Linked DNA regions of Homo sapiens: region 1 is linked to region 2. The links are contacts of gene promoters, found by promoter capture Hi-C in blood cells and fetal thymus (Javierre and others, 2016). All regions are on one chromosome and are shown on one strand. Each heading gives the region's core, a stretch centred on a gene start or on the middle of the fragment in contact. The rest is flanking DNA. Distances are from core to core; before and after follow the strand shown. Region 1 overlaps FAM91A1 (family with sequence similarity 91 member A1). Region 2 holds the start of SQLE (squalene epoxidase).

What was found. Contacts are between HindIII fragments. The CHiCAGO score rates a contact against its expected background, and 5 or more counts as called.
Region 1: a contact is called between a fragment that was not itself captured here and the fragment with the promoter of SQLE in region 2, in 1 of 17 cell types (monocytes). The highest score is 7.1, in monocytes.

The regions. Positions count from the first base shown.
Region 1 is chr8:123,774,769-123,779,903 of GRCh38, forward strand. It overlaps FAM91A1 (family with sequence similarity 91 member A1), which reads left to right. Exons shown (of 24, transcript NM_144963.4): 3 at 379-530; 4 at 2,497-2,554; 5 at 3,257-3,324; 6 at 3,891-4,004. Among named protein-coding and RNA genes, the nearest start is that of FAM91A1, 8.9 kb to the left of the region's middle. The HindIII fragment of the contact is 1,265 bases long and covers 2,982-4,246 here.
Region 2 is chr8:124,994,741-124,999,754 of GRCh38, forward strand. It overlaps SQLE (squalene epoxidase), which reads left to right and starts at 3,765. Exons shown (of 11, transcript NM_003129.4): 1 at 3,765-4,954. The coding sequence starts at 4,664. It overlaps SQLE-DT (SQLE divergent transcript), which reads right to left and starts at 3,458. Exons shown (of 2, transcript NR_134457.1): 1 at 3,223-3,458; 2 at 2,248-2,420. RefSeq lists enhancers at 3,086-3,145, 4,076-4,125 and a silencer at 3,366-3,865. The HindIII fragment of the contact is 7,996 bases long and covers 470-5,014 here.

The DNA.
Region 1 (5,135 bases), core at 2,364-4,863, 1.2 Mb before region 2:
CAGCAAATAATTTTTAAAAATAGACTTGACTTCATTGAAAACGAGCATTCAGTTTGGCTCTCTTGTAAGGTAGTAGAATACAATTCAATAAAGCTCTGTTTTGTACCTTTTTGGGGGGCATGCTGGTAGTTCCATGCTTGTTTTCTCATTTGGCAAGAATTATTCTCTACTAATCTGTCCTATTATTCATTTTACTTCTATACTCTAAAATCTATTTCATGTGATATATTTCTTTGTTCCAACTTAGAATATTTTATTTGTTCTCTTGTAATTTACATACTTTTCTTTTAAATTACTGTTGGTTTGTAAAGTGTTCATAGTTAATATATAACTATAAGAAACCTGAAAAAAACTGGAGAATTTCCCTCTTTTGTGCAGTTAAACATGTCAAGAAAGATGAACGCAGATACTATGAGGAACTGCTAAAGTACAGCCGAGATCATCTCATGCTGTACCCTTACCATCTATCGGATATTATGGTGAAAGGCTTGAGGATAACACCATTTTCATATTATACTGGGATTATGGAGGTGAGTTTACAGTGTGGGTGAGCCAGTGGGAATGGGATGGGACTACATGTCTGGGACTTTTTGCAGATGTTCACCAGCTCTTCAGCTGTCGTCTGCGGTGGACACTCTTTCAGAACTTATAGTGTAAAAAGGACTATTGGTGGCTTGTTAACTGTTTGAGCCACACTGTACAAGTACTTATCCTTATTGATGTTTTTACATTGGGAAGCTGTCTATTTCTCTTCTGGTCTTGAAGGTGCTATTGACCCTTTGTGCTGTTGTAGTACTGATCAGTCATTTATGTTGGCAGAGTCTGTGTAAAATTTATTGCTTTTTAAAACGTGATTAAGGTTGAAAATGTGGGTGACAGAATTGAACATTATGTTCTGAGAAAATTAATGTATTTAGGCTGGGAGCAGTGGTTCACGCCTGTAATCCCAGCACTTTGGGAGGCCAAGGTGGGTGGATCATGAGGTCAGGAGATCAAGACCATCCTGGCCAACATGGTGAAACCCCGTCTCTACTAAAAGTACAAAAATTAGCCAGCCGTGGTGGTGTGCACCTGTAATCCTAGCTACTCAGGAGGCTGAGGGGGGAGAATCGCTTGAACCTGGGAGGTGGAGGTTGCAGTGAGCCGAGATAGCGCCACTGCACTCCAGCCTGGGTGACACAGTGAGACTGTCTCAAAAGAAAAAAAAGAAAAGAAAAGAAAATTAATGTATTTAACTATTCACTAACTGTCTAAAGAATGAATGATGACATAGACCCAACATTATATAATACAGGTGCCAGAAAAGAGAAATATGTTAGTAGTCTTGGCTGTTAATCTCTTTCTATAATTATTAACTTTTAGTTGTTAGCCTTTTTCCAAAGACAGCTTTTAGGCTTGTATTGGATAACTTTAATACTAGTTATATACTGTTTTCAAGTGAGCTTTATTAAAGATTGGCAGTATTTATTTAGTATTCATTTGCTCCTTAATTATGTTTGAGTGCTTCTGTTTGGGGCTCACTAGCCGCTTGAAGAGCAGAGAGGAGCCTAGAACTAAAGGAGTTGGGAACGTGTGGTAACATGAGGTTAGCCCTACATACGATGTGTGCTTTGCTGTTTGCTCCCTTCGTTATCTCCAGAAGCCCCTCCTTCATGGGTGCTTCTGCAGTCCCATGCATCCCGTGTTCCTCTTTTGGAGGAAATACTGGAGGAAAGCGAGAGGCCCGATAGCCCAGGTAGCATAGTGAAGAACCAGGGTAGCATAATGAAGGTGGCAGCTAATCAGGAAGTAGAATAGTTACTGCTGTCTCTTTATTTTTCTAGTGTAGTCCACAAATTTGGGAGCTAAAATAGGTGGAGTTTTTGTTTCACTTATCAGCTTTCATTTCAGTTACATCCACATGGTTGCTGCATTCTGGTTTCTGTTATTCTATCATTGGGTATAGTTCCTCGGTAGAAAACGGGCCTTATCCCCACAGGAAGCAGTGGGTTTGTTATTGGAGAAACAGATTGGGGCAGAAAAAGCTGGATACCAAGTTTAGCTCTTCTACAGATTGGGACTTGTGGGATCAAAGGCCACTAAGTGGTTGTAGTCTTCATTGGTAGTGCATGTTGATGGAGCTGTGCCACATTATTTGGCTTTCTCTCATGGTGGAGATCTAGGATCAGGTATGAAATGTGGAGAGGCTGGAACCCTGAGCTCTAATGGAGCCATTACTTACATAGCTTCCACAGGGCAGAGGTTATGGGGCAGCTGCCTGGGATTCGTAGAGAGCCTCTTAAGAAACCTAGACCTGAAAATCTGCCCTTTAATTACTAGGTTGGGAACATGTGTGGAAAGTGCCACAGGGTGGCATGTATGCTCTAGGTAGCCAAACTATGATCTTACTGCTTCCTGTAATAATCATTGTTATTGGCTGTAATAATATTGTATTTATACACATTTTTATTTAAGGACATTTTAGATTTCAAATTTAAATTTTTTTCTTTTTAAAAGGATATTATGAACAGTGAGAAAAGTTATGATTCATTGCCCAATTTTACTGCTGCTGACTGTAAGTATTTAATTGTGCTGAAGAAGGTAATGTTTAGGTTGTGTCTTTGTGCATCCTGTCATCTGTGAATATTGTCATGTGTGTTTTTAACCTGAAATATGTGAAAAATGAGAACAGTAAGCAACATTATCAGTGAGAATTTTATCAGATGATACCAGATGCATGTGTAAGATTTACTCTAAATGTCTAAGAGAGGCATATTTGAGAGTGGTAGAATCAGAAAAATAAGACTAATCTATATATTTCCAGAGAATGAAGTTCTTTCTGATACTTGGGCTGTGTGTATATTGAATGTGGGAGGAAAACTTGTGCACAGTATTTTTGCAGGGTGACATACAGTTTTTAGTAACTTAACTTGCTGCTGTTTTAGTATGCTTACTTTGGCAAAGTGTATATTTTGAATGTGTCATAATTCTGTTGTTTAAGAAGCTTTCGCTGAGAATTACATTTTGACTTCCTAAAATTGGCAGGACTTCTGCTTTTTTAAAATGTTTTTGTTAGAAGTGTCATCTTGAATTCATCTCTCCCAAAGTTTAGCTTTCATTTATGTTTTGGTTGAAGACGTCCTTTTAATTTGATATTGATATTTGACTAGTAATTGAAAGATGAAAATAAGCTCGGGTTTTTCCTACAATCGCTTGTGAACATATTGAGATTTCAAGATATGTTAAATGTTTTTAAAGGAAAGACTCTTTTTTTCAGGTCTAAGGCTTCTTGGCATAGGAAGAAACCAGTATATTGATCTTATGAATCAGTGTAGATCATCAAAAGTAAGTTAGTACTTTCTTTTTCATTGTTTTGGCCTCATCACACAGTTTGATTAGTTTTTTTAAGTGGTAGAAATAATGAATTGTATGTCTTTGACCAAATAAAATGTACTTAACACAGAAACAATACAAAAAAAACTCCTCAGTATTCTCTAGGTTATAGCATAAATGATTATTTAAAATTTTTAATGCATAAAACATTTATTTTTAAAAATTATTTTTGTTCTCTTAGTCTTTTTATTTGCTCATTCTACTTGTACAGTTCACTTAGTGGGTGAAAAAAGTGTTTGCATTTTCAAATGCATTTTTCACTGCTTGGGTTTCACTTGAGTTTGTGGAAGTAAATCTGGATTTAACAATTAGTGTTTTGAAACAATTTATTTTGAAACAATTTAAGAATGACTTTCTTCATACAATATGTTAATATCTAGAATTGTTAAGATTTTAAAACATGAAGATTTTAAGAAGATATTTATTTAGTCCATTAGAAACAATCTTATGATATGATTGATGAAAGAAGAAAGTGGTAGTTTTAGATTGCAAATTCTCAAATGTTTGTACCATTGCAGAAATTCTTCAGAAGGAAAACAGCCCGTGATCTTCTACCAATAAAGCCAGTGGAAATTGCCATAGAGGCGTGGTGGGTGGTGCAGGCTGGCTATATCACAGAAGATGACATCAAGGTAGAAATCTTTAAAAGTTAAACATAGAATTTTTATTTTTTAGTTTATTTTACAATTTTTAATTATAGCTTATAATTTTTTAAAAAGTAACATTGTTTTCCTGAAGAAAAGGAAACTTAAATTTAAAATTTAAAATGATCTTAGTAGACTAGAATATTGGTGAGTTTTTGAGATACTCTTTAATGGTGAGGGAGACTTGACTTGGTTCAAGTACAGTTATCTGGGGATGTTAATTAGATAGAAGCTTCGTGTAAAGTAACATGATGCCACAGCTACCTACAACAATAATACTGGCTAACACTTTTGAATACCTGCTGTGTGCTAGATGTGCCAAGCTCTATTACAAGTGCTTTTTATATTGTCTTACTTAATTCTCATAACAGCCCCAGAGGTATGTATTATTTGTACCCCCATTTCACAGATGAGGAAAGTGAGCACAGAACAATTAAGTAACAGCTCATGTCTTAGTGGTAGTAAAGGTCCAGGATTTTTTGGCAGTTCACCATGAAACTTGTACTCTTAATCACTGCAAAGAACTGTTGTACTGAAGTGATAGGTGCTTTTATGGGGCGATAGTGTCAAGATCAAGAGAGTTGATATTCCCAGTGGTCAGACCACATCTTAGAAGGGATATTGGTTTAGAGGAAAGGGGTGGAGTAATGAGGGCACCTAGAGACCAGGTTGTATTTATGCGTAGCTGAAGCAATGGAAATGAGTATGTGGGCTTCTTTTTGGTCTGCATTTAATTTTCTCCAGGGTACGTACTAAATCCATTGAGTGGAAGGCTTAGAAATTTTACTTCAGTCTAAAGTACCTCTTAATGGAACTCTCAAACTGTATCATAATAAGCTAGTGAACTTTCCTGTTACTGACAATATTCATGTAGAGTTTGACTAAATTTCTGGCTAGAGAGATTCTGAATTGGCAGATGGATCTAATTCCAATTCAATCACAAGGAACAAATATTACTAACTAGCAAATGTTGGTACTTACAGTAAGTTTGTTCTCTACATTCTGTTGGTATGTTGCATATTTTGGCACCTTAATTGATGGCTATGTGCACAGTTTTTTGTTTGAATTATAGAGTGATAAATATGTAGTTCATTGAGCTAATGACATGTAATCACTGGT
Region 2 (5,014 bases), core at 2,515-5,014:
AGAATAATTTGTAATGCTGTCTGCTCACCGACATGTAGACACAGCTTAGCTTTTTACATAGATAAGACCTCTGTATAAGGAAAACTTACAGACAAGACGTGCCTCCTCTTACTCTCTGGGGATGCCCTACTTTGTAATGGAGTAGCTTTTAATAAACTCTCTTCTCACTGCGCTCTGCTACTAGCCTTGAATTCCTTTTTGCATGAGATCTCAGAACCCTCTCTTGAGCTCTTTTTCGACAACTTGGAAAAGGCATTGTGAGTAGATAATTATAGTACAAATTGGTGAGTGACTGCTACAACAGAGGTGGAATTATGAAAACTTGAGGAAAAAAAAGATGATTAATCTGAGGTCTCAAAGCATGGGTAGTTGAGGAAAGCTGGGCGGGACTTTTTCTTGCATTGAGAATGGCACTTAAAACACAAATCTAGCCTGGTGTGCCAAACTAGGCTAACAGTGAAAACTCAAAAGCTTAAGCAAAAAAGAGATCAGATGTGCTTGTTTGTTTCAAGATAACTAGGTCTTTGTGTGGGGAGAAAAATCAAGTCACACATTCCTAAATTCCTCACATACATTTTCTGGGCTTGGATTCAGACTCTGCTAGTCACTAGCTGTGATCACTTCCCTGTGCATGAGTTTTCTTGTCTGTAAAATGGGGCTAAAAAAATAGTATCTTAGCTGGGTGTGGTGGCTCACGCCTGTAATCCTGGCACTTGGGGAGGCCGAGGCGGGCGGATTGCCTCAGCTCAGGAGTTGGAGACCAGCCTGGCCAACACAGTGAAACCCCATCTCTACTAAAATACAAAAATTAGCCGGGCGTAGCAGCCTGCGCCTGTAGTCCCAGCTACTCGGGAGGCTGAGGCAGGAGAATCGCTTGATCCCCGGGAGGCGGAGGTTGCAGTGAGCCGAGATCAGGCCACGGCATTCCAGCCTGGGTGAAAGAGCGAGACTCCATCTCCAAAAAAAAAAAAAAAAAAAAAAAGTAGTATCTCCCTAAAAGTGTTGTCAGGAAGCCAAAACGAGCTAATATATGAAAAGTATTTAGAATGCTACCCGTACTATATGTGTGAGCTCTTGTACGAAAGTATTTCTCATGTACCTACTTGATAGCATTATGGCTTTCTGCCAGTAAGCAGCTGATTTTGTCTCACATTTCATTGCTTTCCCTTCAGGTCTCAATGACAGATTTGTTTTTGAATAAATGAACCATGGCAAGATTCAAAAATACTTAAGCAATGCTTATATAACATTTAATTCAGTTCAGAAGATATAGGCATTCAGAGTGTGCTCTGCGGTAGGTATTACAAGTGCTCTTTTTGCCCCAAATTCAGAAGTGGATCTTGAACTGCCTAAAGGATTCAGACCTGACATTGTAAGAATGACTTTGTGAAGATAAAAACATATGAAGAAAGTCGCTTTCCAGAGATTAAAAAATTATCTACTTAATAAGAAAAATTCCTTTTATGATAATCTTGAGTACAGAGTTAGCAGGTAACAGCCATCCTGGTGATAACTGTATTCCCATCTGTAAGAGTCAGTTGGCCGGGCTTGGTGGTTCATGCCTGTAATCCTAGCACTTTGGAAGGCTCAGGCGGGAGGATCACTTGAGGTCAGGAGTTTGAGACCAGCCTCGCCAACATGGTGAAACACTGTCTCTACTAAAAATACAAAAATTAGCCGGCATGGTGGCACGTGCCTCTAGTCCCAGCTACCCGGGAGGCTGAGGCTTGAGAATCGCTTGAAGCTAGGAGGCAGAGGTTGCAGTGAGCTGAGATTGCGCCACTGCACTCCAGCCTGGGCCACAGAGCGAGACTCTGTCACAAAAATTTAAAAATAATAAAAGAGTCAGCTGCTCCTCTATTATTTTAACAAAACAGAACTCACAGATACCAATAAGCAGTTTATTGAAGAATTCTCTTCAGGAAATGATTTCCCATACATTGAACTGATTCTCTTTTCTGCAGTCCTTTTAAATTTGATGTCAGTTCAGACAGCCAAACTTACTGGTAACAGTGAGGAATATTGTAGAAGAAAGAATAAAAGTATTGGAAAGCAAGGCAGTTATTGATAATTATGCATACTGGGGAACCACAAGATTTGGAGACCAGGACTTTGACTTTTGGTTTCATCATTACGATTTAATCACAGCTGTGATTTAGTCAAGCCATTTAACCTCTTTAATTTTCATTTTCCTCATTTTAAAAATCAAAGTTGTTTTGAGGGTCAAGTGAACGCCTGTGCGGGTGTTTTACCAAATAATTATTTTATTAGCAGATAAAACATAATATTGGGGGTGAAAAGTTATAAGAGGTGCCATGTTTTTTTAAACCCTGCCAAGTATCTGATACAGAATTGCAAAGGATGTTCGAGTTCATGAAGAAGTTGCCTTCTCCCCACAGAGGCAGAGTGACTTGTAACATCTGTAAAAGGTCACAGTCTGGTTAGCGGTAGCCAGAATCTGGGTCTCCTAACTCTAGTTGCCTAGTCTTGCTTTTATGCGCCAGTGTCGTTCATCATTCATTAAATACATGTTATGGAGGATAAATTAAGGGCAGAGCATTGTGCTAGGTGCTGTGGGTGATCTTATCAGACACAGATCTTTAGGGAATCTAGAGATTAAAAAGTATGAATAAAGTTATGTGACTTGGTGAAGGTCAATGGCGATTTGGTGGAAGAGGTGACAATGCAGCCACGCTCCAAAAGGCAGAAGGGATTTGCACCTATTATCATAGGGGTTAAAGAAGGAAGTCCAGAGTTAAGAAACAGGATGAGCAAAGACACTGAGGTCTTAAGCCTCAATAAATTTTAGGTAAGTTTCATCGTAGTAGAATAAGGGCTGTCTCACTCCGAGACTTTTGCACACTTTTGCTCCCTCGGACTGCTTGTCCTGGACACCGTGTAACCTCCCCCTGGGCGCCTCACCAGACTTCTCCAGGCCAAGGGAAGGACCACCTCTTGGGTTTCCATGGCTCCCTCTCTAACCACCCCCTTCTCAGGACACCTATGACACGACTATTTGACTTCTTTGCCTCCGAGCCCCCACCCCCAACGTTTCTGGTCTTGAGAGAACGGGCTGGGCGCATCCGTGTATCTCTAGCCTGAGCACCTGGAGCGTCCTCTCCTTTTCTTCTTAAGGCAAAAGCCTACTCATTCTTCCAGCTTCAGCTGGAATGTCAGGCTCTCCACGCACTCATGGCCCTCCCTTCCGCCCTCTCCACATACACAGGGCAGGGAAGCTGTGTCTGATTCCTCTTTCGGACTCCGGGGACTGACATATCATAAGCGCTCAATAAATGCTAGCGGAATGAATGGAAACGTTCCGACCCGAGGCAGCGGATCACTCCAGGCTTCTCCTCAAAGCGAGCACACCTCAGTCCAGGGAGGGCGCAGGAGCTGGGGCTGCTGCGGTGAACCAACCCCAACCCCGACCCCGACGCCGATCCCGGCCCCAGAGCGCCTCCTAGGCGACCCCTGGCCCCACCCACGCCGGAGCCGGCCCGCGCCCATCCCCACGCCCCAACCCGCACCACGCAACATCGCCCTAGCGCCTTTCGGGGCGTCGCCGCGCAGGTTGCGCCGCCTCCGATTGGCCAAACGCGGCATAGCGCCATCTCGGCCTACCGCGCGGTGCGCGCCCTCATTGGCCGGCGGCGGCAGGAGCAGGGGTAGGGGGCGGGGCAGCACGCGGGGCGCGCGGTATGGGCGGACTCGCGCCTGAGCCCCGCCCCCGGTCCCTCGTCTGGGCCGAGCCCGCCCAGCTGGCTGAGACGCGTGGAGCCTGGCGGCGAGTGGGGGCGTGCGACGGTTACTCTGGTTACTGGGGCCGCGCCGCGCTGGCGAGAGCCGCCGCCCGCGAGGGATGCTGGTGAGGAAGCCGTCGGGAGCCGCCGCCGCCATCTGAGGGAGGTACCCTGGAAACCACCTTTTATCGGTGGGGAAGTGCAGTCGCGGTGGGCGGCTCTGGGGGCCAGCGAAACGGGAGGCCTCTAAATCTTTAGGTTGGGGCTGCATTGCCCTGGAGCCGCACTCTTGAGTCCGAGGCCATCTTTTGTTGGAGAAGGCGTCGGCGTTGGCGTTTTCCCGAGGTTGGGCTGTACAGTGTCTCCGTCCGCGGAAAAAGAAGCCTCTGAACCCGCGCCGGCCCGCAGCCCCCGTGCCTTCCGGCCGCTGCTCGCCGTCGCCAGAGGCTAGGCCACGTTTCCCCCAGTGCCGAGGTGTTTCTGTGACCCTCCCTCCACTCCCATTCCCTTCTGAAAGGGCACCTGCTCTTGGTGAGAAAAGAAATTATAGCACGAAGAGCCAGTATCAGAAGAGTATCCATCACCCGCAGCAACCGCTCAGGGAACACCATCAAAAAAGAAAAAAAGGGAATATCTGGATTTCCTGGGCGAGGAGGAGCGAGTCTGCTCGGGAGCTGTTCCAGCAGGCGATTTTTAAATACTGCTTTCTACGCCCTATACAACTTGGCTTCACATACTTTTACACTAACTTTATATGATTTTTAAAAACTGGTCTGATCGGACTTCTCGTCCTGGGACACTGTTTACTGGAGTCTGGCCGGCTCTCCGTGCTCCTCTTGGTACCTCATTTTGGGGAGAACCTTAAACCCACTCGAGCAGATAATCTCCGCCTTGACCGGTGCCACCAAAGAAGCCTTGGAACCATGTGGACTTTTCTGGGCATTGCCACTTTCACCTATTTTTATAAGAAGTTCGGGGACTTCATCACTTTGGCCAACAGGGAGGTCCTGTTGTGCGTGCTGGTGTTCCTCTCGCTGGGCCTGGTGCTCTCCTACCGCTGTCGCCACCGAAACGGGGGTCTCCTCGGGCGCCAGCAGAGCGGCTCCCAGTTCGCCCTCTTCTCGGATATTCTCTCAGGCCTGCCTTTCATTGGCTTCTTCTGGGCCAAATCCCCCCCTGAATCAGAAAATAAGGAGCAGCTCGAGGCCAGGAGGGTAGGTTGATTTCAAAGCGGGCAGATGAATGTCTTATTTAGGAGTAGGATTGGGTTCACT